7 separate regions of the Homo sapiens genome follow, and all the other regions are linked to region 1. Evidence: promoter capture Hi-C in 16 types of primary human blood cells and fetal thymus (Javierre and others, 2016). All regions are on one chromosome and are shown on one strand. The core of a region is centred on a gene start or on the middle of the fragment in contact, and the rest is flanking DNA. Distances in the headings are between cores, read along the strand shown.

Region 1 (3,051 bases), core at 330-2,829:
ACTTTTCAAACATTAATATGCAAACACATCACCTTGGACCTTGTTAAAAAGCAGATTCTGATTCGGTAAGTATGGAGCAGGGCTGAAATCCTGCATTTTTAACAAGTGCACAGATGGTGTTGCTGCTGCTGCACTTTGAGTAACAACATTCTAGAACATTCACTCAGCTTTTGGCACTTTCCACTGTCCTTAAAATTTGTATTCTTTCATCAAGAAAATGGAGAATATGTAAAAGTTTGACAGATAAGCATCTGAACATTAACGTGCCTGGTATGTAATAGTAAAGGAAGATGTGAATGGTAATGGAGATACAGAGGAGGGAGCAGAGGGACTCATCCAGAGACCAAACACTTTCCTGGCTTTGCAAGGTAATCATTGCTTTCAAAACTCAGAGGAATTTTGGTAAAGACCAGTGGAGAGCATATGAATGACTCTCAAGCTGTCTAGTTGCTCATGTAATCTGCTTAGGGCTGCAGGTTAAGAACCTCTCCCTGTCTAGAAAGGATAAATTGACCTTCTTTCTCTGTAATGTTATGGAGTGTAATTTTCTAATAGGTAACAACTGGGGAAAGAACATTGAAATTCACTGGCAAGGCATGGAAGTGACCAGCAAACAGACATCTTGGTCTCTGTCTGCTTTGATGTAGTGCAGCACAAAGACAATTGAATATGCAAGGTACTTCCAGATTTGGGCCCTGTTCCTGGCTCCACTATTAATTTTATTTGCAGTCTTGAATAGGTCACTTAATCTTTCTATGATAAATTTATCAAAAGAGCTTACTGATAACTACCATATGGGTTGAGATCTATTTAAAATACAAAAAGTATTAATCTATTAATAATTAATACTAGTGGATCAATAAAATAGGAAGACTGAGTCAAGGAGTCTCAGTAAATTGGATTGTACCCTAGACCCTACACCCTGAAACATTTAGGTACGGAAGATCCAGCAATCGATTCTCAAATAAGTGTCCTCAGTTAACAATTCCTAGCTGTCATTTGGGCCCTTTCTGTGTCAGATATCAGTTTTGACTCTGAGGTTCCATCTCTCTGAGGAAATTCGCACAATACCAGTTAGGGAGACATACTGTGTGTTTCCCAATGTCACTGCCCGCATGTTCAATGTCCCTGTATAGCAGGAGGCACTGTGGCTCCCTCTCTTCTCTCCAGTTATCTAGAGCCCCATAAGAATTATGTCACTGTGTATATGTGTGTGTGTGATTGCGCACATAGGTGTGTGTTTGTCAGAGAAAGGGAAGAAATGGGGGTATTGAAATCTAAAGGTAAGAATAAAAAAAAGACAGAAGATATTGAATCACAAACTGAAATTTACCCTTGGATATCAACACTTTTTGTGTTTTTGTGAATACAATACCTATTTATTGACTGGAATGAACCCAAGTCAGTTTTGAAAGGGCCTCTAATTATTGGAAAACTCCTAAGCCTGTCCCAGCATCAACCCATGTTCTCCTAACTTCTTTGCACCTGGGTTGCTGTTCTGAGCTTATGACGGTGAGATTAGGCAGCATGAGGGTATTACAGAGAGATAAGTCAGGATGCAAAGATCCTTTTGTCTTTTGCAAAGAAGGCAGCTGGGCAGCTGATAGGAACAACATTCAGCTCCGTGAGTACTTCTGAACTTCTGGTGAATTTGAGCAGGATAATTGAAGGGCTTTGGGGGGTTGATCAGGTTCCAAAAGAAAAATTGCAGAAGAAAACATGTTGGACCTGTGGGCCTGGGCTGTGGCTGGGGATGAAAATGGGAAAGAACATGAAGGAGATACATGCAGACCTTCTTGTTATGCCATGGGACAAGCAAATAAGTGAAACTTGATTATTACAAGGTCACTGCAAAACTTGATTACTGAATTCATTTAGAAGGAGCCCAATAGTGACCTCCCTGTTTGCAGCTTCATAGTAAACAGTTTTCTGAAGAAGGAGGAATCTGTGGCACTAAATAACCACAGAGAAAACAGTTCTTTACTCCCAGGATGTGCCTGCAAACTTGGCCCAGGATGGTGTGAGTGTGAGGAAAAGGAGAAGGGGAGCTGAGAGCATGAGAATGACCACAGGGCAGGGCAGGTGGCTGAGCCTTCTCCCTTTGAGGTCAAGTGTTTGTTCCATTCTGAAGCAGGGTGCTGGCTGGAATTTTGGTAATTTTTTTTTTATGGCTTTGGTTTGGGTCTTGCTTTGCTTTTCAAATTATTGATTTTCTCTGCCTCAGCAGGACCCTGGGTGATATTTATGGGCTCAACCCCAGCAGTACTTCCCTTCCCAGCTCCTTCCTGCCTCTTTCTTTGTCCACCAACAATGGACTGGTCTACCTGTCTATAGCTTTGCTGAGAAAAAGAGAACTGGAAGTGTAAGGTGATAACAGCAGCATCAGAGAGCTGTCTCAGGAACCTCCTAAAACTGCTTTTCAGAGGATCATCCTCTGTCACTATATAGAGCTGGGCTTTGCTGTATAAAGAAACAGAAGATGATTTTTTGCTTTATACAAATCTTTAACTTTGTTAAGTTGACCCTAATCCCAGTCCCCTAAAAAAGTATGCCTTGAAATATTACTTTGCTGCATCCACTTATTTCTGCAGAAAAACAGTTTGTAATCTTCAAAAGGGGAAGGGCTAACATTGCTTTAAATACAGGAAAATGTTCTGGCTCACAAAAGAATAAATTGCCTAATGCTTTTGGAGGAAAAAATATGAAACTTCTTTCAGCTAAAATCAAGTCTGATAATACATTTAAGGTTACTCAGCTCCAGATGCCCTTAGAATTTCTAGAAAGGTGTGGTCAGCATGAGGTTAGCCTTTGGTGATGTTTATGGACAACAGGACTGGCTTCCAATGCAGGAAAAGGTCAGAGGTGTTCTACCCTTCCTAAAGGTTTTGCAGAGAGAATTGGAGGGTAAATCTATGACAGAAACTGCATAGGGATTAGTCGACTGTTCCGGTTACCTAGTGCAAATCCTGAGCACCATTAGGATCAAGGGATTAACCTGGCAACTGTTATGTAACTCTTTCTGAGGAGGCTTCTTTCATATAATGCATCATA
Region 2 (3,051 bases), core at 336-2,835, 940 kb after region 1:
TTAATTCTTATCTAAAACATAGGAATGGAGTGAAGCTAGAACTGATTGGTAAAGAAGTCATAATAGCTAGGATAGGGGCTATTTGAACAATATTCATGGTTTTCTATTATCAGACATGATTATGATTATGTTTTTGTTGATTCATTGTGGTCACAATGGCCTTGGCTGATGCTGTGCTGTGAAATTGTATACGTTTAACCAGGGAAAACCATGGTCCAGTTGTGAGTTTCAGGCCAGCTCCAGGCTTTCAGGGCCTGCTTTTCTCTTTTTCAAGGTTAATATAAAAAAGAAAAGTGCTATAGTATGTATGAGTAAGATCTACACACATCCGAAACATTCAACAGTGGCTGTGTGTGGACAAGGCTGAAAGCTCAATGTAGAGGAGTATACAAATATTACTATTCCTATTTAAAACAGCTCAGTAATTACTGTGTGAACTTGACAATAACATTAACAGCTTCCATTTTTTAAGTATCTACTGTATGCCATGTTATGTACTAGGTGCCTTGCATACATTCAACAGCTTTGCAAGGTGAACATATTTTGATCATCTCCACTTTACAGGTAAGTAGACAGACTATTATTTCCAGAACTGCCAAGTTACATTTATTAAATGGAAGAGCTGGTATATTAATGGGTTCAGCTCATTTTGAGCTCACTGTATTTCCCCTATACCAGGATGCCTTTCTATTCAGAACTTTGATGTCTAAAGTTACAGCAATGGAGATAAAATACATTATTGGCAGGATTGTTCAGAGACTCAAATGCTATCATACATCTATATATGATGTATGAAAGCACCTAGCACAATAACTGGCTCATGGTAGACAAATCATAACTAACTGTACTGTTTTCATAGCAGAGGTGCCTCTAAACGTGAGTACAGATAAGTTAACTATATTGAGATTGTGGAGTGACTCGACGATTTTAACCTCTTGGTCACAGAGAAATCAGGCTGAAGCATTTTACCTTTATAGAATCATAGTATTTTGAAGAACCAAGAAATTGTCAAGGTCTTCTTTTACAGATGAGAAAAATGAAGCTCGGAAAAGCAGTTAATTTGCCCAGGGTCACACATTTAATTATTGCCCGAGCTTGGCTAAGAAACCAGGTCTTCTGACTCCTAAGCCCTTGCCTTCTTCAGGCCACATAGCTGCTTCTTTTCATGATGTGTAGATTAGAAAAGTCAGTGTGCCCCGGGGCCCTTGATTGCACCTTGGTTTCCCTAACAAGGATATGGGATCCCTGCTGACATTTCAGACCTTAAGTTGCAGAGCTCTGCACTTGGATCTTCTTCCTTCTTGTTATATAATCTTACAGTTAAAAGTTTCTAGGAATATTTTTATTACGTGCAATTGGCAACTTCAGTATTTTTTAAAGGGTGTTGGTAGCATTATTTCCGGGAGCTACTTAGCGCTCCGGTTCGGTACCTCGTGGAGAAGACGGGGGAGGGGAGCAGCGAGATTTCCTTGCGGAGCAATATTCCTAGGGTACAGACCTCGTAGCCCGGGCCCGCGACTCCGCCCCGGGAGCGGGCAGGGGCGGGGCGAGCGCTCCAGCTGGCGGGAAGGAGGAAGGGCCGGGCGCGGCGCAGAGGCGGGCGCCTACCAGCCGGCAGCTCCGGAGCTGCCCGCGCCATGTCCGCGCACAATCGGGGCACCGAGCTCGGTAAGGGGCCCGCGGGGCTCCCCATCCCCTCTCCCTCGCGTTCAGCGCCGCCGGGACTAGCGCGGGGCCTGCTGCCGCCCAGTGCCCTGGCTGTGGGTCCCCGAGGGGTTTTCGCTGGGGCGGGAAGCAGTGGCGTCTGGTCAGCCCTCACCCCAAGTAAAGGCCGAACCCGGCACGTTCGCGCCGCTTGTCTTTGCACCTAAGCTTTTACTCTTGTATGCGGAAGGAGTAGGAAAGGGTTAGATTATTATCTTCCTGCCTTTTCGTTCACTCTAGCTCGCTGGTTGGAAAACCCAACAACCCAAAAAACAAAACCCAAAACAAACAACCCCCAAGCAGGTAAAAACAGATAAAAACCTTCTTTCTCCTCCTTTTAATAGAATACTTGTGTAATTTAATGCAGTATTTCCGTAGATAATTTTAACCGTAACCTTGAAGTGGCCGTGCTCGTGGAAAAGTTGTCAGCCGTCTGTGCTCAAAATGTAACACTGCAGATTCATGGGATTTTAGAGTTACAAAGATTTGTTAAAGTACCTGTATTATTTCCCAGTTTTCATCTTTTTTTATATTGTTCAAATACTGGCAAGAAACCTTAGTTCAGATTTCTTTTTTTTTTTTTTTTATTGATCATTCTTGGGTGTTTCTCGCAGAGGGGGATTTGGCAGGGTCATAGGACAGTAGTGGAGGGAAGGTCAGCTGATAAACAAGTGAACAAAGGTCTCTGGTTTTCCTAGGCAGAGGACCCTGCGGCCTTCCGCAGTGTTTGTGTCCCTGGGTACTTAAGATTAGGGAGTGGTGATGACTCTTAACGAGCATGCTGCCTTCAAGCATCTGTTTAACAAAGCACATCTTGCACCGCCCTTAATCCATTTAACCCTGAGTGGACACAGCACATGTTTCAGAGAGCACAGGGTTGGGGATAAGGTCACAGATCAACAGGATCCCAAGGCAGAAGAGAATTTTTCTTCAGATTTCTTAACATGTGAAAAATTTATAATTCAAACAGCAAAACCATGATCAAGAGAAGGTTTAAGCGTCTCGTTTAAGTATTATAGCTTGGATATCTGTGTATCCAGGATCTTTAACTTCTTACCTGTGTGACTTCGGACAAATTAATAACTTTGCGCTTAAGTTTCTTCATCTGTAAAATGGTTATTTTAGTGGTAGTTACCTTATAAGGCCGTTAGGAGATTAAATAGGATACATGTAAAGTAGTTTGGTATATTGTGGACACCTAGTAAGTCTTCAGTATAGATAGTATTAGTATATGGAGTTATGGTTTTAGGGGCTAATTTTGAGAAAATTGGCTGTAAATTATATGTAACACATACAGGTAGGTCCTTTTCGCCCTCCTTAAAAGTGACTGGTACTTAAACAGTCTGC
Region 3 (3,051 bases), core at 260-2,759, 730 kb after region 1:
TGCACACACACACACAAAAAACTGTCCTTAAAATCCTGTGTGTATATACACACACACATACATATACATGTGTGTATATTTTTTAAAATTTGAAGTAGGTTAACATTGTATTCTACTTTAATAAAGATCAAGAAACACAATCTCTAATTTACAAAAGCAATAAACTGAACTGCATCTTGAAGGAAAAAAAAGCTCGCTGGTCTAGTTTTATACCAACTCCTATTTTCTGGTCCAGTTCTAACATTATCTGGCAGGCACTTTTGCAAATTCCATTTCTCACTGATTCTTAATTTTTACCTTAGTCAAACAGAGTAGGACTCCTTGCTTCACCCCTACACACTGATCTCAGTCTACTGAGGAGATAAAATAAGAAAATGAATACATGACATTACTTTTAAAATATTCAATGATTTGTAATAGATATATTGTTTCATGAACACATGTGAAATCACTCAAAAAATTTTCAGTGTCTATTTTTCACTTTTTAATTGAGCTTTTAAACAATCTAATATGCATATAAGTTTGGGTAAAACATTCATTCAACAAAATAACACCCACTAGTACTCCAAGGGGTTTAAAAAAAATCTGTTCAATAAGGTGATTTCAACAAATTTTAACGGCAATTGGAGAAGAAAACATTTAGATCTTGTTTTCATAATTAACTAATCCATTATTAAATCCCATACAAAATATCAATAATTATAAAATGATGCTAATTAAAGTACTTAACACTCATTTAAAAAGCAAAATAAACACATGAATGTACCTTCCTTTTAAAAAGTTATTGACATTTTATGGCAAATCAGTTGTTGACTGCAATAGTTAGAATACCCTCTTGGAAATGAGCCCAGTGACATTGTTTTCCTCACTGTTCAAAACTTCCAACTCTTAGCAAACACTAACCTCAACGGCTAGCCAATATTACCCTTTTCGTAAGGAAAAACAGACTTATGATATCCAGTAGAAAGACATTAAAACCCTCAATGTTTGATATCATTAACTAAAGTTCACTAAAGTTTAAGCTTATGTAAAACATACACAAGTATCATTATTAAATTCTTGTACAATCAGAGGCACATGTGTTGCTGCTACCACCTATCAGCTATTTTTTTTTTAACTCAAAGAAGGCTAACATTCAAGAATGACCCTGAATCTATTTTCTTTCCTTCTGTCTCCAAATCCCAGTCTTCTCCTCACCTAAGGTTACTCTCTCTAATTCTGCAAACCAGTATGGTAAACATCTTGTAAAATGGTCCCTCCCATTGAGACAGCTAAGTGGGAGGGGATCCCTGGCAAAGCTCCTGCCGGCCTGTGCACTGGGGTGGAGCCTGAGCAAGTTTGCACCTTTGCAGAGGGGAGGAGCCTGGCCTTGCCTTTTCCTGCGTGGAACCTGGGATTCAAAAGGCAAGGCGGGAAGCACTGCAGCATTGACAATGCCAAGTTCTTCCTTCCTCGAGGCCTATCACACTTGTCTAGAATAATTATCTTTTATATCTTTGCCTATCTAAATCTTGTATCTCAGCTTAAATGGCCCCTTCTTGGGAAACCATTCCCTGACTCCCAATCTATCCTAGATTTCTACATTACATGTTTTCACAGCACTCTGAAATTCTCTTCATAAATCTTTACTGTTAGACATTTGGGCCAATATTTGCTTAATATCTGCATTTCAAAAATAAAGTACTAGCTGGTATACTTTCTATTGAAGCAAAACACACTTTTGTATTTTGCATTTTCTTTCAAAAACATCTTGAATCTCATCTTTCTTTTAGGTGAATATTACATTTTTAATATGAGACTAGAATTTTCTGTTCTTTATATTTTATGTTTTTTTTTACAACTTATCCAAAGATATTCTTCCTTGGGCAAATTTTGTAATAAAATGACACAATTCTCCAACCTACTCTATTGTCTATGTGTACAAGTTTTTTTTCTATTTTACATACTAACTAAATTTATACAAATGCCCATATTTGATATCTAGTTAGCAAGCCAGACAAGCTTACATTTCAGTCCTTATTAAATGTAAAACTTTAGGCTTACTTAGCCTCTATGAGCCTAGTTTCTTCATTTGTAAAGTGGTTATAGTATCTCTCAAGGTTAAGAACAATCGAAGTATGCAAAACCCCTATAGCAAAAGAGCAGGCTAAATACATGACAGTTCTTTCCTCCATGTGGGAAAAAGGCACATGTTTGAAAATGTAGCCCCATGAAATATTACACTTTACAGTACCTAATCCAATTTCCTAAAAGGGAACAAGTCTAACTTTTTTCTTCATGGTATGTATTTCAGGTCAGGGGTTGACAAACTTTCGGTAAAGAGCCAGGTTATAAATATTTTAGGCTTTGTGGGCCACATACAGTCTCTGTCAATATTCTTCATTTTTGTTTTTAATAACCTACCAAAAATGTAAAAAGCATTCTCAGCTTGTAGAAAGAAAACAGCCCAATGGCTAGAGTTTGCTGACCCTCTGCTTTGAGTTCATCATTACTCATCGATTCTACCCTTACTTTTCCTATTACTTCACCTTAATCAATACCCAACTGAACAACTACTCTCCTTACTATTTATTAAGCTTTCAGTATAACAAACACTAATCAAGTACTTGCTTATCTGTAAGGGCCTGTAAGGTAACTCACTACCTTAAAAAAAAAAAAAATCACATGCTACAAAACAAATACAAATAAATCCTTCCGAAGTCTTCCTCTGGTATCGCCTTGCTCTTCCCTCTGATTTCTGAGCGTATTACTACTAGTGATTTATGCTCATGATCAGATTTCTCTTACCACAATCTTGTAATGAAGTTGGTGGTTTTAATTCCTTTGTAAGAATTTGATTAGGCTTTATGTACCACAGAGTTACAAGTCCCCTAGTGTTCATTTTTCATTAGACTCTCTCCTTACAATTCTGAAGTACTATTATAACTCACCTTCTTTTGTTCCCCAACTTCCAACACAATCATTTCATCCTCTTTTTGTAGTTCAGTTCACCTCCCTATCTCTAATTCTCTAATTGTTTTCTTCCCCTTTTATGTATAAGCCCCAGGAAAA
Region 4 (3,051 bases), core at 410-2,909, 740 kb before region 1:
TAATAGAGAAGAGGCAACCAAGTGGCAATGTATTTCTGAGTTGCAATTACTTGCCTCCACTGTGAGAGAAACCCCAGCCATATCTCCAGCATACAAGAACTTCAAAATGCCTAAACCACACCAGCCAGGCGTTCCTCCAGGACCTCCTCCCCCAGGATCTTGCTTCAAGTGCCAGAAATCTGGCCACTGGGCCAAGGAATGCCCGCAGCCCAGGATTCCTCCTAAGCCGTGTCCCATCTGTGCGGGACCCCACTGGAAATGAGACTGTCCAACTCGCCTGGCAGCCACTCCCAGAGCCCCTGGAACTCTGGCCCCAGGCTCTCTGACTGACTCCTTCCCAGATCTTCTCAGCTCAGCGGCTGAAGACTGACACTGCCGATTACCTTGGAAGCCTCCTGGACCATCACAGACACTTTGGGTAACTCGTACAGTGGAGGGTAAATCCGTCCCCTTCTTCATCAATATGGAGGCTATCCACTCCACATTACCTTCTTTTCAAGGGCCTGTTTCCCTTGCCTCCATAACTGTTGTTGGTATTGATGGCCAGGCTTCTAAACCTCTTAAAACTTCCCAACTCTGGTGCCAACTTGGACATTATTTTATGCACTCCTTTTTAGTTATCCCCACCTGCCCAGCTCCCTTATTAGGTCGAGACATTTTAACTAAATTATCTGCTTCCCTGACTATTCCTGGGCTATAGCCACACCTTATTGCCACCCTTTTCCCCAGTTCAAAGCCTCCTTCACATCCTCCTCTCATGTCTCCCTACCTTAATCCACAAATATGGGATACCTCTACTCCCTCCTTGGTGACCGATCAGGCACCCTTTACCATCCCATTAAAACCTAATCACCCTTACCCCACTCAATGCCAATATCCCATCCCACAGCAGGCTTTAAAAGGGTTAAAGCCTGTTATCACCCGCCTGTTACCACATGGCCTCTTAAAGCCTACAGATTCTCCTTACAACTCCCCTATCCTACCCATCCAGAAACCGGACGAGTCTTACAGGTTGGTTCAGGATCTTCGCCTTATTAACTTAATTGTCTTACCTATCCATCCTGTGGTGCCAAACCAATAAACTCTCCTATCCTCAATACCTCCCTCCACAACTCATTACTCCATTATTGACCTCAAAGATGCTTTCTTCACTATTCCTTTGCACCCCTCATCCCAACCTCTTTTTGCTTTCACATGGGCTGACCCTGACACCCACCAATCTCAGCAACCCACCTGGACTGTACTGCTGCAAGGCTTCAGAGACAGCCCCCATTACTTTAGTCAAGCTCTTTTTCATAATTTACTTTCTTTCCGTCCATCTGTTTCTCACCTTATTCAATATATGGACGTACCTTCTTGTTCAGCCCCAACCTCGTGACAGACACCAGCCCTCTAGGTGACTGTCTTCCAGTCCTCCAGCAGGCTAGACAGGAAATTCACCAGGCTGCTAATCTTCTCTTGCCTACTCCAGACTCCCAGCTATATGAAGACACCCTAGCTGGATGATCAGTTCTTGTTACAAATCTGACCCCTCAAACTCTACAACCTTGACGGACCGGACCCTACTTAGTCATCTATAGTACCCCAATTGCCATCCACCTGCAGGACCCTCCCCATTGGGTTCACCATTCCAGAATAAAGCTGTGTCCCTCGGACAGCCAGCCTGATCTCTCCTCTTCCTCTTGGAAGTCACAAGTACTCTCCCCTACTTCCCTTAAACTCACATTTCTGAAGAACAGTAATAACCCTTATGAGCCTAATACATCCCTTCATTCTATTAGGTCTATTGGTCCTTACCCTGCTTTTTACAACAGGGCTTTACGCAATCACCCCCACTACTTGGACTGCACCCCAAAAACTTGTCATTCCTACTATCTTCTGTCTAATCATACTCCTATTCACCATTCTCAACTACTCGCAAATGCCCTGCCCTTGTTTACACTGCCAGTTTACACTTTTCCTCCAAACCATCATAACTGATATCTCCTGGTTTTACCTCAAACCACCACCCTTAACTCTCTCTTGGAGTGGATAGAAGATCTTCAGTGGCAAGGTACACTCCAATTCTATCCTGATGAAGTCCTTTTTTTACTTTTCTACTCACTCTTATCCTTGCCCCCATTCTCCAGTCACTCTCTACCTCTCCCTAGTTACCTCCAGCATACTATCAATCTCACCCACTCTCTCCTCACTGCCTCCAATCCTTCTCTAGCAAAGAATTGTTGGCTATGCATTTCCCTTTCTTCCTGCTCTTATACAGCCATCCCCGCTCTACAGGCCAACTGGGCTACCTCTCCTGTCTCCCTGCACCTCCAACCTTCCTTTAATAGCCCTCATCTTTACCCATCTGAGGAACTTCTTTACTTTCTAGACAGATTAGGTGAGAACTCCCCAGACATTTCGCACCAACGAGCTGCCACACTTCTCAACATCTACTTATGGCACCTTTCTCCTTATGTCAATTCCACCCTTGCCCCCATATTTGGACCCCTAACCACACAAACAACTATCCCTATTGCCATTCCTTTATGCATCTCCTGACAACAGCCTACTGGAATCCCTTTAGACAACCTTCCACCGTCCAAATGTTCCTTTACTCTTTATCTCCAGAACCCAGCCACACACATTACCAAACAGATGGGAGCATTCCAACTTCACATTACTGATAAGCCTCTATCATTACTGACAAACTAAAAAACATTGGCAGTCACTATTGTTTAGGAAGACACCTACCCTGCATCTCACTCCAGCCTTGGCTACCCTCCCCCTGCTCATCTGACTCTCCTCCTAGCCCCTCCTCTTGCTTGCTTATACCCAGCCCCATGAATAACAGTGAAAGGTTACTCGTAGACACTATGTGCTTTCTCATACACCATGAGAACCGAACCTCTGCCTCCATGCAGTTGCACCATCAATTCCCATTACAACCTCTAATGGCTGCTGCCCTTGCTGGGATTCTGGGCACAGGTCTCCTCTTTCAGTACACCCTCTCACCTTTTCACTTTACATTTCCAGTTCTGCCTGACACAAGGTCTCTTCTTTTTATGTGGC
Region 5 (3,051 bases), core at 347-2,846, 700 kb before region 1:
TCCTGTCCTCAAACACCTAGCAAGCAGTGCTATATGAAGGTACTAGGAAACTTTAACTAGGAAACTTTAAACAATTGAAGATTCTCGACTTCAGATAAGGGATAGGAACAAAAGCAGTACTGATAATATTGAAATACTGTTTTGTGATTGCATTTGATAGTGGGGAAAAGGACATATGAAACCCTCCAGACTTTTTCTCTTGGTGCCCTAAAACTTCTGGCTCATTGAGATTAAAAGGATCAAAATGCAATCTTATCCAGGGATAAAAGGCATTTTTACAATTGGAACTCTAAAATAGTATGTCATCCACTTTAGGACAAAGTGGATGGAGAGAATAAGGCATAATATCAAATACAAGTCCCCCAAATAGAAAGTTACAAGGGTGGACAGAATGTGGAAAAAAACTAAGACAAACCAAATGAGAACAAGCAAATTCTATTTATTCAGAGATTGCTATAGCTAGGGAGTCAACCACTGTCACTTGTATTTTGGCAGACACTCCAAGGCAGGCAGAGGAGTAGGAAAGTTTTATTGTAGGAAAAAGGAAAGGCTTCAACTATGCCCCAGTTAGAGGCTGTTGGCATGAGGAAGCTGTAAGCAGGCAAACTAGAAACAGGAATTCCTATGTGATTGGTTAGGGGTACACATTTGGCTTTCTCTGATTTTTTTTTTTTTTTTTTTTTTTTTGAGACAGAGTCTCACTCTGTCCTCAGGCTGGAGTACAGTGGCGCAATCTTGGCTCACTGCAACCTCTGCTTCCTGGGTTCAGGCGATTCTCCTGCTTCAGCCTCCTGAGTAGCTGGGACTACAGGCGTGCGCCACCATGCCCAGCTAATTTTTGTATTTTTTTTTAGTAGAGACTGGGTTTCACCATATTGGCCAGGCTGGTCTCAAACTCCTGACCTCAGGTGATCCACCTGCCTCAGCCTCCCAAAGTGCTGGGATTACAGGCATGAGCCACTGCACCCATCCGGTTTCCTCTGATTGGTCCTAATTTGGAAGCAGGGACAAAAATTAGAAAAGCGGTCAGTTATTAATCAAGTCCTGGCCATATTGGCTTGTTGTCACAGGAAACAACTGTTATTGTTTGGCCTCTTAGACTGTCACTAAAGATCTGTGACTCCCAACAAATCTGACTTACAGCAGACTGTCTCACTGGTTGGCTATTGAAAATAAGTGATTAGTTTCCTGGATAGGTTGCTGCATGTTGTCAATGAAGGAAGGAAGAACTTTACCCTCTTATGTTATTAGGTACCTGGGGCCTGCAAATTAAACTGACAAATATTACAACAGGAAAAACATATACAATTTCATTTGGTGTTAATGTTTTTATATGGCATGGAGGGCTTCACAGAGAAGATGTGAAAACCTCAAAACATGTGGATAGAGAGGTTTATATACCATTTTAACAAAAGGCAATAAATTGTGAAGACATAGGTAGATAAAGGACAGGGGTTTGGGCTTCTACAGGTGGTAAGTTTTTGGAAAGTACCTAGGAAGTATATGAGGAAAACTAATGGAAGATAAGGGCTATATTAATAAGGTTTGTTTGTGCAGACAAACAATCAGTGTCAATTCTCCATTTCCATTGATAAGAATGTTTTCTTTCTGGTTATGGGAGAGCACCTTTCTCATGGGAAATGTATGTCAGGCCAGGTGTGGTGGCTCACACCTGTAATCCCAGCAGTTTGGGAGGCCAAGGCAGGCAGATCACGAGGTCAGGAGATCGAGGCCATCCTGGCTAACACAGTGAAACTGTGTCTCTACTAAAAATACAAAAAATTAGCCAGGCATGGTGGCCGGTGCCTGTAGTCCCAGCTACTCAGGAGGCTGAGGCAGGAGAATGGCGTGAACCTGGGAGGCGGAGCTTGCAGAGATGGCACCACTGTACTCCACCCTGGGAGACAGAGTGAGACTCCATCTCGAAAAAAAAAAAAAAGAAAAAGAAAAAAAAAGAAAAGTGAAGGTCAAGAGGCCATTTGCTGTTTTTCAATTGCCTTCAGTTCAAAATAATCAATATGCTAAAGCAGCGTATTTGGGGGCAACATGTTCTGATCCCCTTCATGGGTCAGAGTTCTGTTGTTATCTATGGTTCAGCCACTGCCCATTTGTATTTCAACTTCAAATTGCAGTCTTTCGATTCCAAATTGCAGATGTACACTTGAGATCACACTCCTTCAGACATGAGCCTGCCCCAGAATGAGGCAGTGAGAATTTACTTACTTTATGATGGCTAATGATTCTTTTGAGCAGACAATTATTTTAGCCAATAATTTTAGCCAATTATTTTGGGTGAGATTAAATAGTAATAAGAAGAAAGCAATGTCACCAACCATTTTCCCTAAGATATGGTGGAAAAAATGATGGTTGCTTCATAACCCTGCAAGGAGTATCTGAATTTCCCAAATTGACACCTGACACCACGTATGCATCCCTTTTTTTTTTTAAACAGGGTCTCACTTTGTCACCTAGGCCAGAGTGCGGTGGCATGAACACAGCTCACTGCAGCCTTGACCTCCTAGGCTCAAGCGATCTTCCCACCTCAGCCGCTTAGTAGCTGGTACTACAGGAATGCACCACCACACCTGGCAAGTTTTTGTATTTTTTGCAGAGATGAGGTCTCACTATGTCACCTAGACTGGTCTCGAACTCCTGGGCTCAAGAAATCCACCTGCCTCAACCTCCCAAAGTACTGGGATTATAGGTTTGAGCCACCATGCCTGGCCCCCCATATGCACCCCTAATGGATAGAATTTGAAACTTGAAAAAATGGAGAAATTTAGCCGATTATTTTGGGCAGGAGTGCTTTCCCCATAATTAGGCTGTCTTCTGCCAGATTCTTTTAGGAGCCAACCCTAAGCAAAAGGTTTAAATGTAAGTAGTTTGAGTGGTGATCATAGGAAGCACTGACAGGGGAAAGGGGCAGTAAGACAGGGAAGTGAGGGAAGCCTAGACCATTACGTTACCAATGGGGGCAACCGAGGGTCAGTCATGCTGGGAACCTGTGGGAGCTGTCCCACCTGAGGGGAAGAGGAAGCTGGAGTTTGTCCT
Region 6 (3,051 bases), core at 169-2,668, 610 kb after region 1:
AGGCTGAGGCGAGCAGATCACTTAAGCCCAGGATTTCAAGATTGCCTGAGCAACACAGGGAGATCCCATCTGACTAAAAATTCAAAAATTAGCTGGTGTAGTGGTACACACCTGTAGTCCCAGCTACTCAAGAGGCTGAGGTGGGGGAATCACTTGAGCCCCGTAGGTGGAGGTTGCAGTGAGCCAAGATTGTGCCACTACACTTCAGCCTGGGCAACAAGAGCAAGACTCTATCTCCACACACACACACACACACAAAAAAAATCAACAAGAAAAATAGTATTTTATGTGAAATGCTATATGTAAATTATGTGAAATTCAAATTTCAATGTCCATATATAACATTTTATTAGAACACAGCCTGCATTGTTGACGAATTGTCTATGACTGCTTTTGTGCTACATCAAGCTTGAGTAGCTGCAACCAAAACTATATGATCTGCAAAAACTAAAATATTTACTAACTGTCTCTTTGCAGAAAATGTTTGCTGACCCTTAAAATAGGCAATGGAAACAAAGATTGCCCGTATCAATACAACGTTAGAACTTGATACTACCTACTGATTGATCTCTACAGGAGATAAATCACTTCTTAGCCATTGTTAATTGCCACTTGTTAACTGGCAGTTAACAATGTCTTTTATGACCAGGAGAATTCAGGCAAATCCCCGTATGACTCTAACAGGCTGTGTTTCGTGTTGTTTCGGTCATTTAAAATTCACATTGCTTCCTTGTTAAGCACGTTTTTACTCAAATGCAGAGTTTCAGCTTAAGTGTCACCCCCTTTGTGGCGTCTTCTCTGGGCTTGGACACCGTTAGCCCATTCCTTCTCTGGGGCAGAGTCTTAAGTAAGCTGCTTTATCACAGCACACCATAGATAGTTACAATTCTCGCTTCTTGTGTCTGCCTCCCCAGTATACTGTGAGTTTCAGAAGCAAGTGCTGTATCCCTGTGGAATGAATAAATCAGTGAATGAATGAGTTATTTCAAAAATAATAAGGCACTTGTAAAGCATCAATAGACTTTCCGTCAGAGAAAATATTTGTCAATCCAAATGCCATTTGAACTCTGTTTTTTGTTCTTAGATATTTCAATTGAAAAGCCAGTGCAAACTGATAACCAAATACAGTACAAATCTGTCCCTAGGTTTGCACGTAGTAGAAAAAATTTCAGAGCACAAAATAGGGTCTGTTCCATTGCCTATTCTGTTGACAAAGAAGAGTCACATAGATTATTGCTTGGTCAGTACTATGCTTCTTGTCCTTGGTCTTAAGTGATGACCTATCTTTCAATGACAATCATGTGAAGGACTTGAAAAATAGGAATAAAACATTGAACAGTAGTGTTTGTTTGTAAGGAATTTACTTGTTACAAGCGTCTGGTACCAGAGTGCCCCCTTTTGGCCATAAGCATAATGAATCTAAATGTTAAGCTACAATGAAGGCTAAGTTGCCCAAAGAACATTGTGCTATGCTAATTAATATATTTTTCAATTTGTTTCATTTTTTGTTTATACCCTTCTTTATCCATTCCATATTGATATGTGGAAACTTTCCAATTATAAAAAGATAAAATTACATAAATAAGGAACTCAAGGTAAGAGAAATTTAGGAATAGCTAAGTAAGATAAAACCAGAAGAGTTTTCTCCTTTAACAAGAAAGGAGAGAAATGACCATAACACACAACTTGTCACTTTCTACTACTTGAAATTTGGCATCAACTGAGTGAGAGCTGGAGACTAAAGATCATCAAAAACGTGTTTGTTGCCAGGGACTTTGTGCCCTGCTATTCAGCTCACAGGGCTGACCCCAGTTCCAGGACCCCTGCCGTGTAGCTGCGGAGAAACTAACTACAATTTAATGATTTCCTGATTTTAAATCACCTTGCACTTTTTAACTGAATACATTTTCACTTCAACCGTACTGGAATATATATATTGGCTACAATGTACACATGTTATACAAATTATGATCAGCATTTAAACAGGGCAAGCATTTTCCTGAACTTTCCTGGCAACCAAAGTTATCTGGTGGCTGAGTATTCTTAAATCCTCATGATGTTGAATAAGTAAATTATTCTGCACAATTCTTTATGCCCAAGATAGTTTCTCAACATACTTCCTGAAGAGAGCAGTGAGGGTAGCCAGCGTCTTTGTAGACTTCATGTTCTGTGTGTCTAAGCCAGAGCCCTTGAACATAGTAGGGGAGGCACTGCATGCTGCTGGGGATATATTAGGTGCCAAGGGTACAATGGGTGTAGGGGAGGTGATAACTTATGTATATTTAAACAAATCTTACATATTTATTTATACATTTTATTTATGAATTGTCTTTATACGTTTATTTTCTGTCCAAGACCACTGACTCTTTGAAATTCATTTCTCTTTCAATACCTGAACTTAAATTTTAGCTCAAAACTGACAGCGAGGCCAAGCTTCCCTCCTTCCCAGTTATGATATAGTATTCCAGCCTCTGAGTGAATTCTAGGCTCTTCACAAGTTTGAGAACTGAGGGATGAATCAGACCTTTATGAAGCCTGGGTTTGGGATATTTCTGATGGCTGATAACAAGTGGAGAATATGTAACTCTTACAAGTTAGTTGGGACTAAAAAGAGTTGATCTGGAAAGATATACATTCTAGTTAATATGTACTCAGTTCAGAGAGAACAACAATATATTTGATGTATGGGTTAATAGGAATAGGAAAATATACAAGTTATACTCACTTACTGGGGACTCCCAGAATCAACCATACAATTGCACGGAGCTGGATGACGGTGAGTGATGGTAATGAGGTACTAGTAAGTAGTAATATCACACACATGATTACACTTAATTCACACAACAACTCTTGTTATAAGTATCATTAGGCCATTTTTAGATATGAGAAAACTGAAGCTCAGTGAGTCAAGTCCTCTAGTATCAAAGCCCAAGACAAGGATTCTCATATAAGTGATTTTGTGAAAGTGCATTCTTAGGGAAAGCCCATAAGGGAGCAAGGGAAGCAGATTGACAGAGAAGAAGCCCTACAGAGCATTCAGCTGAAAATCTC
Region 7 (3,051 bases), core at 252-2,751, 570 kb after region 1:
TGACCCTTGTTCTTAAAGAATCTAATAGGATCTACTAGAATCAGGCCTTCACTCACATAGATTATATAGGAAATAATTAAAGGCAGTAGAATGTCAGAGAAGGGATAAATCATTAAGAGAAAGAGTCACCAAATGAGACTTCAAGGAGGAGGTAAGACTTTTTCTTGACCTTCGAATGAGCAGAATAAAGAGCATACTGATTGAAGGCAAACATGGGCTGACATAGAGCACTGCCCTGAAGTTCAGTGAGAAGACTGTCTTTCCCAGGAGGCAACACATCTGTGTGTCAGGAATGGTGGTGAAGCTGGTTGGATAGCATGCAGCCAGTTTAAGCAGGATCTTAAAGACATGGTATGTTTGGATGTGATACCACAGACAATGCACAGATAGGATTTAACATGAGTGAAATGGCATTTTAAGGTGATTTTAATCCGTTGTTGACAAAATGAAGAAAGAATTGATTAGAGCCAGGGAAAAAGAGGCACAGCAAGTTTGTGATGATCAATGAATGTGATCACAAAAGTCTAGACATGCAATATAATTTAAAAATAGATTAAAGGAGGCCGGGGGTGGTGGCTCATGCCTATAATCCCAGCTCCCAGCACTTTGGGAGGCAGAGGCAGGCAGATCACAAGGTCAGGAGATCGAGACCATCCTGGCCAACATGGTGAAACCCTGTCTCTACTAAAAATACAAAAAAATTAGCTGGGCATGGTGGCATGCGCCTGTAGTCTCAGCTACTCAGGAGGCTGAGGCAGGAGAATTTTTTGAACCCGGGAGGCAGAGGTTGCAGTGAGCCGAGATTGCACCACCACTGCACTCCAGCCTGGTGACAGAGCGAGACTCCATCTCAAAAAAAAAAAAAAAAAAAAAGATTAAAGGAAAAGGTAACGAGTTTTTAAAAGATATGCTCTCTGGGACTGAGAAATAAGGGAAGAGCCTCAGAATTGTGACTGAGGAACAATTCTGTAGTGTGCATTTTTAAAAAAGAAAAGCCTAGGCTCAGCCTAACTAATCATTCATCTATGCCCCCAAACAACTTCACACTTGGTTCTATAGATTCAAGTTCCACATGAGTCAGAATCCCTAAAGGACATAATCCTATTAGCAAAGGCAGTTATAAAGGAAGTGAGAAGTGGAAATTGACCTCTGTGTTTCATTAGCAGTCTTCCTCAGAGCAGAAGTGGGACAATACAATGCCTGGAGGACTGGACAATTCATTGCAAGTGAAAAAGGGCTCCTGACACCTATTGTGAATTTTGCTTGCCTAAGAAGAACTCATCTCTTTCCTCCTTCAACTCTTCTGCCTAACCTTGTCAAGTTGCTGCAGGAAAGAAACATGCTTCTTTTTAGTTGGACACAAGTTTAGGAGATCTGTGATAAATCATGGCAAGAATGATTTTGACATACTTCTTGGTCCTGGGCAGAGTCACAATGATGATATTCTAGAAACAAGGTTCAAATCTTTCCACACAAAGATGTGTACCTGTCAAAGCAGTGAAATGGCTGACAGGACTTTTTCAAGCACCTCTAAAGGACAGGAGCTGGAGAACAGACTTAGGAGAGTGGGGCAGAAAATGAAAAATCCAAGTAACAAGCAGGAAGAAACCTACAACAGTGGGTAGTCGTCTGACAGGCGCATATAGGTGGATGGAGGATGCTGTTATGTGAACCTAGCAGCAAGGTACAATATGTCCAAATAAGCAATGTCAGGGGGTCTGAGAGCAGGTAACAGGGACCCCAGCTTAAAACCTTGAGTTCAGGCACAGCACTCTGCATACTGGGGGACCTAGAGGGAAAGACAACATCCAAAAGACAGGGTCACAAGCAGAAGACCAGGAGACATTCAGGAATGGAGAATGAGACAGCAGATGACTATTAGAATTGAGGAACAGGCAGGGTTTTTTGGTCTCAAGAGAGCAATGCCAGTGACTCAATTACTAGAAATAAGTATGAAAAGGACAGACAACACAGCTTCCTTTACGAATGGATTTATTTATTATTAAGATAAAATGTCTAAGATAAAAAATTTATCTAATGTTTTATTAATCTTCCAATCCCCTCCTATCAATTCTTTTCTTAAAAAATTATATTATCAGCCAGGCACGGTGGCTCACACCTGTAATCCCAATACTTTGGGAGGCCAAAGTGGGTGGATTGCTGGAGCCCAGGAGTTTGAGACCAACTTGAGCAACATGGCAAAACTCCATCTCTGCAAAAAATGCAAAAATAAGCCAGGTAGTCCCAGTTACTTGGGAGTCGAGGCAGGAGGATCACTTGAGCCAGGGAAGATGAGGCTTCAGTGAGCTGTGTTCGCACTACTGCACTCCAGCCTGGGTGACAGAGTGAGACCCCCGCCTCAAAAAAAAAAAAAAATGATACTATCTGTTTAGCTTTATCTTTTTAAATTTTGACTAAATTTTCAAGCAGCCATTTTTCTGTCTGAATTGTTCCAGATAGTTTCCAGAGAAAGGAAGACAGGTTGTTGGCTAAATACCAAACTGCATCTCATCATTAGAAGGAAGCACACCAAATTTCATTTTTCTCCACCTTTATTAAGTGCAGATTTTTGTTTCTCATCCAGGAAGTTCTGTATTATCAGGGCAATGCTAACTTCAGTATAAATGACACAGAAACTATTAATAGATTATGACTATGATGAAACTGAAGTAGAAAACAGAAGTGTTCTGAAAAGAGAAGTAAAAAAATGGAAGGGGGAAAAGGCAAAGTATTCTGCCTTCCAAGTTAGATAGCTATCTTTATGAAAGGACATATTTCAAAGGCAATATAAAGTCTTTATGGTGCTCTTACCTACCTATATTTGAATTGGGGGATGCTTCACCTGCTTATTAGTGAAAGAAGAAAGAATACACTTAGTAAATTAAATTTTTTTTAAAACTTTGTCTTTGCTCAGAACCAGCTCCACCCAAATCACTCTTCGCAGTGAACAAAACCCAGACTTCAGTGACTTTGCTGTGGGTGGAAGAGGGAGTAGCTGATTTCTTTGAAGTTTTCTGTCAACAAGTTGGCTCCAGTCAGAAAACCAAACTT

Evidence for each region. The method cuts DNA at HindIII sites, captures the fragments that hold promoters and counts their contacts. A CHiCAGO score of 5 or more calls a contact.
Region 2: the fragment with the promoter of DERA here is called in contact with the fragment with the promoter of PDE6H in region 1 in 6 of 17 cell types (naive CD8 T cells, total CD8 T cells, activated CD4 T cells and 3 more); the score reaches 7.2 in naive CD8 T cells.
Region 3: a contact is called between a fragment that was not itself captured here and the fragment with the promoter of PDE6H in region 1, in 1 of 17 cell types (M1 macrophages). The highest score is 5.1, in M1 macrophages.
Region 4: a contact is called between a fragment that was not itself captured here and the fragment with the promoter of PDE6H in region 1, in 2 of 17 cell types (neutrophils and total CD8 T cells). The highest score is 11.9, in neutrophils.
Region 5: a fragment that was not itself captured here is called in contact with the fragment with the promoter of PDE6H in region 1 in 1 of 17 cell types (neutrophils); the score reaches 6.2 in neutrophils.
Region 6: a fragment that was not itself captured here is called in contact with the fragment with the promoter of PDE6H in region 1 in 1 of 17 cell types (M0 macrophages); the score reaches 5.2 in M0 macrophages.
Region 7: a fragment that was not itself captured here is called in contact with the fragment with the promoter of PDE6H in region 1 in 1 of 17 cell types (M1 macrophages); the score reaches 5.2 in M1 macrophages.

What each region holds. Positions count from the first base shown.
Region 1 is chr12:14,971,463-14,974,513 of GRCh38, forward strand. PDE6H (phosphodiesterase 6H) reads left to right here and starts at 1,580. Exons shown (of 4, transcript NM_006205.3): 1 at 1,580-1,624. The HindIII fragment of the contact is 3,244 bases long and covers 1-3,051 here.
Region 2 is chr12:15,909,747-15,912,797 of GRCh38, forward strand. DERA (deoxyribose-phosphate aldolase) reads left to right here and starts at 1,586. Exons shown (of 9, transcript NM_015954.4): 1 at 1,586-1,668. The coding sequence starts at 1,638. RefSeq lists enhancers at 1,276-2,020, 2,021-2,764 and silencers at 1,444-1,503, 1,524-1,873. The HindIII fragment of the contact is 2,953 bases long and covers 1-1,870 here.
Region 3 is chr12:15,704,909-15,707,959 of GRCh38, forward strand. The region is part of intron 1 of EPS8 (EGFR pathway substrate 8, signaling adaptor); the gene reads right to left. Among named protein-coding and RNA genes, the nearest start is that of EPS8, 83 kb to the right of the region's middle. The HindIII fragment of the contact is 979 bases long and covers 1,021-1,999 here.
Region 4 is chr12:14,232,688-14,235,738 of GRCh38, forward strand. No RefSeq gene overlaps it. Among named protein-coding and RNA genes, the nearest start is that of ATF7IP, 130 kb to the right of the region's middle. The HindIII fragment of the contact is 7,894 bases long and covers 1-3,051 here.
Region 5 is chr12:14,269,178-14,272,228 of GRCh38, forward strand. No RefSeq gene overlaps it. Among named protein-coding and RNA genes, the nearest start is that of ATF7IP, 95 kb to the right of the region's middle. The HindIII fragment of the contact is 5,994 bases long and covers 1-3,051 here.
Region 6 is chr12:15,583,243-15,586,293 of GRCh38, forward strand. All of the region lies in intron 23 of PTPRO (protein tyrosine phosphatase receptor type O), which reads left to right. Among named protein-coding and RNA genes, the nearest start is that of EPS8, 200 kb to the right of the region's middle. The HindIII fragment of the contact is 2,025 bases long and covers 407-2,431 here.
Region 7 is chr12:15,543,655-15,546,705 of GRCh38, forward strand. It overlaps PTPRO (protein tyrosine phosphatase receptor type O), which reads left to right. Exons shown (of 27, transcript NM_030667.3): 13 at 2,915-3,051. The region is part of intron 1 of LOC105369672 (a long non-coding RNA gene); the gene reads right to left. Among named protein-coding and RNA genes, the nearest start is that of PTPRO, 220 kb to the left of the region's middle. The HindIII fragment of the contact is 8,324 bases long and covers 1-3,051 here.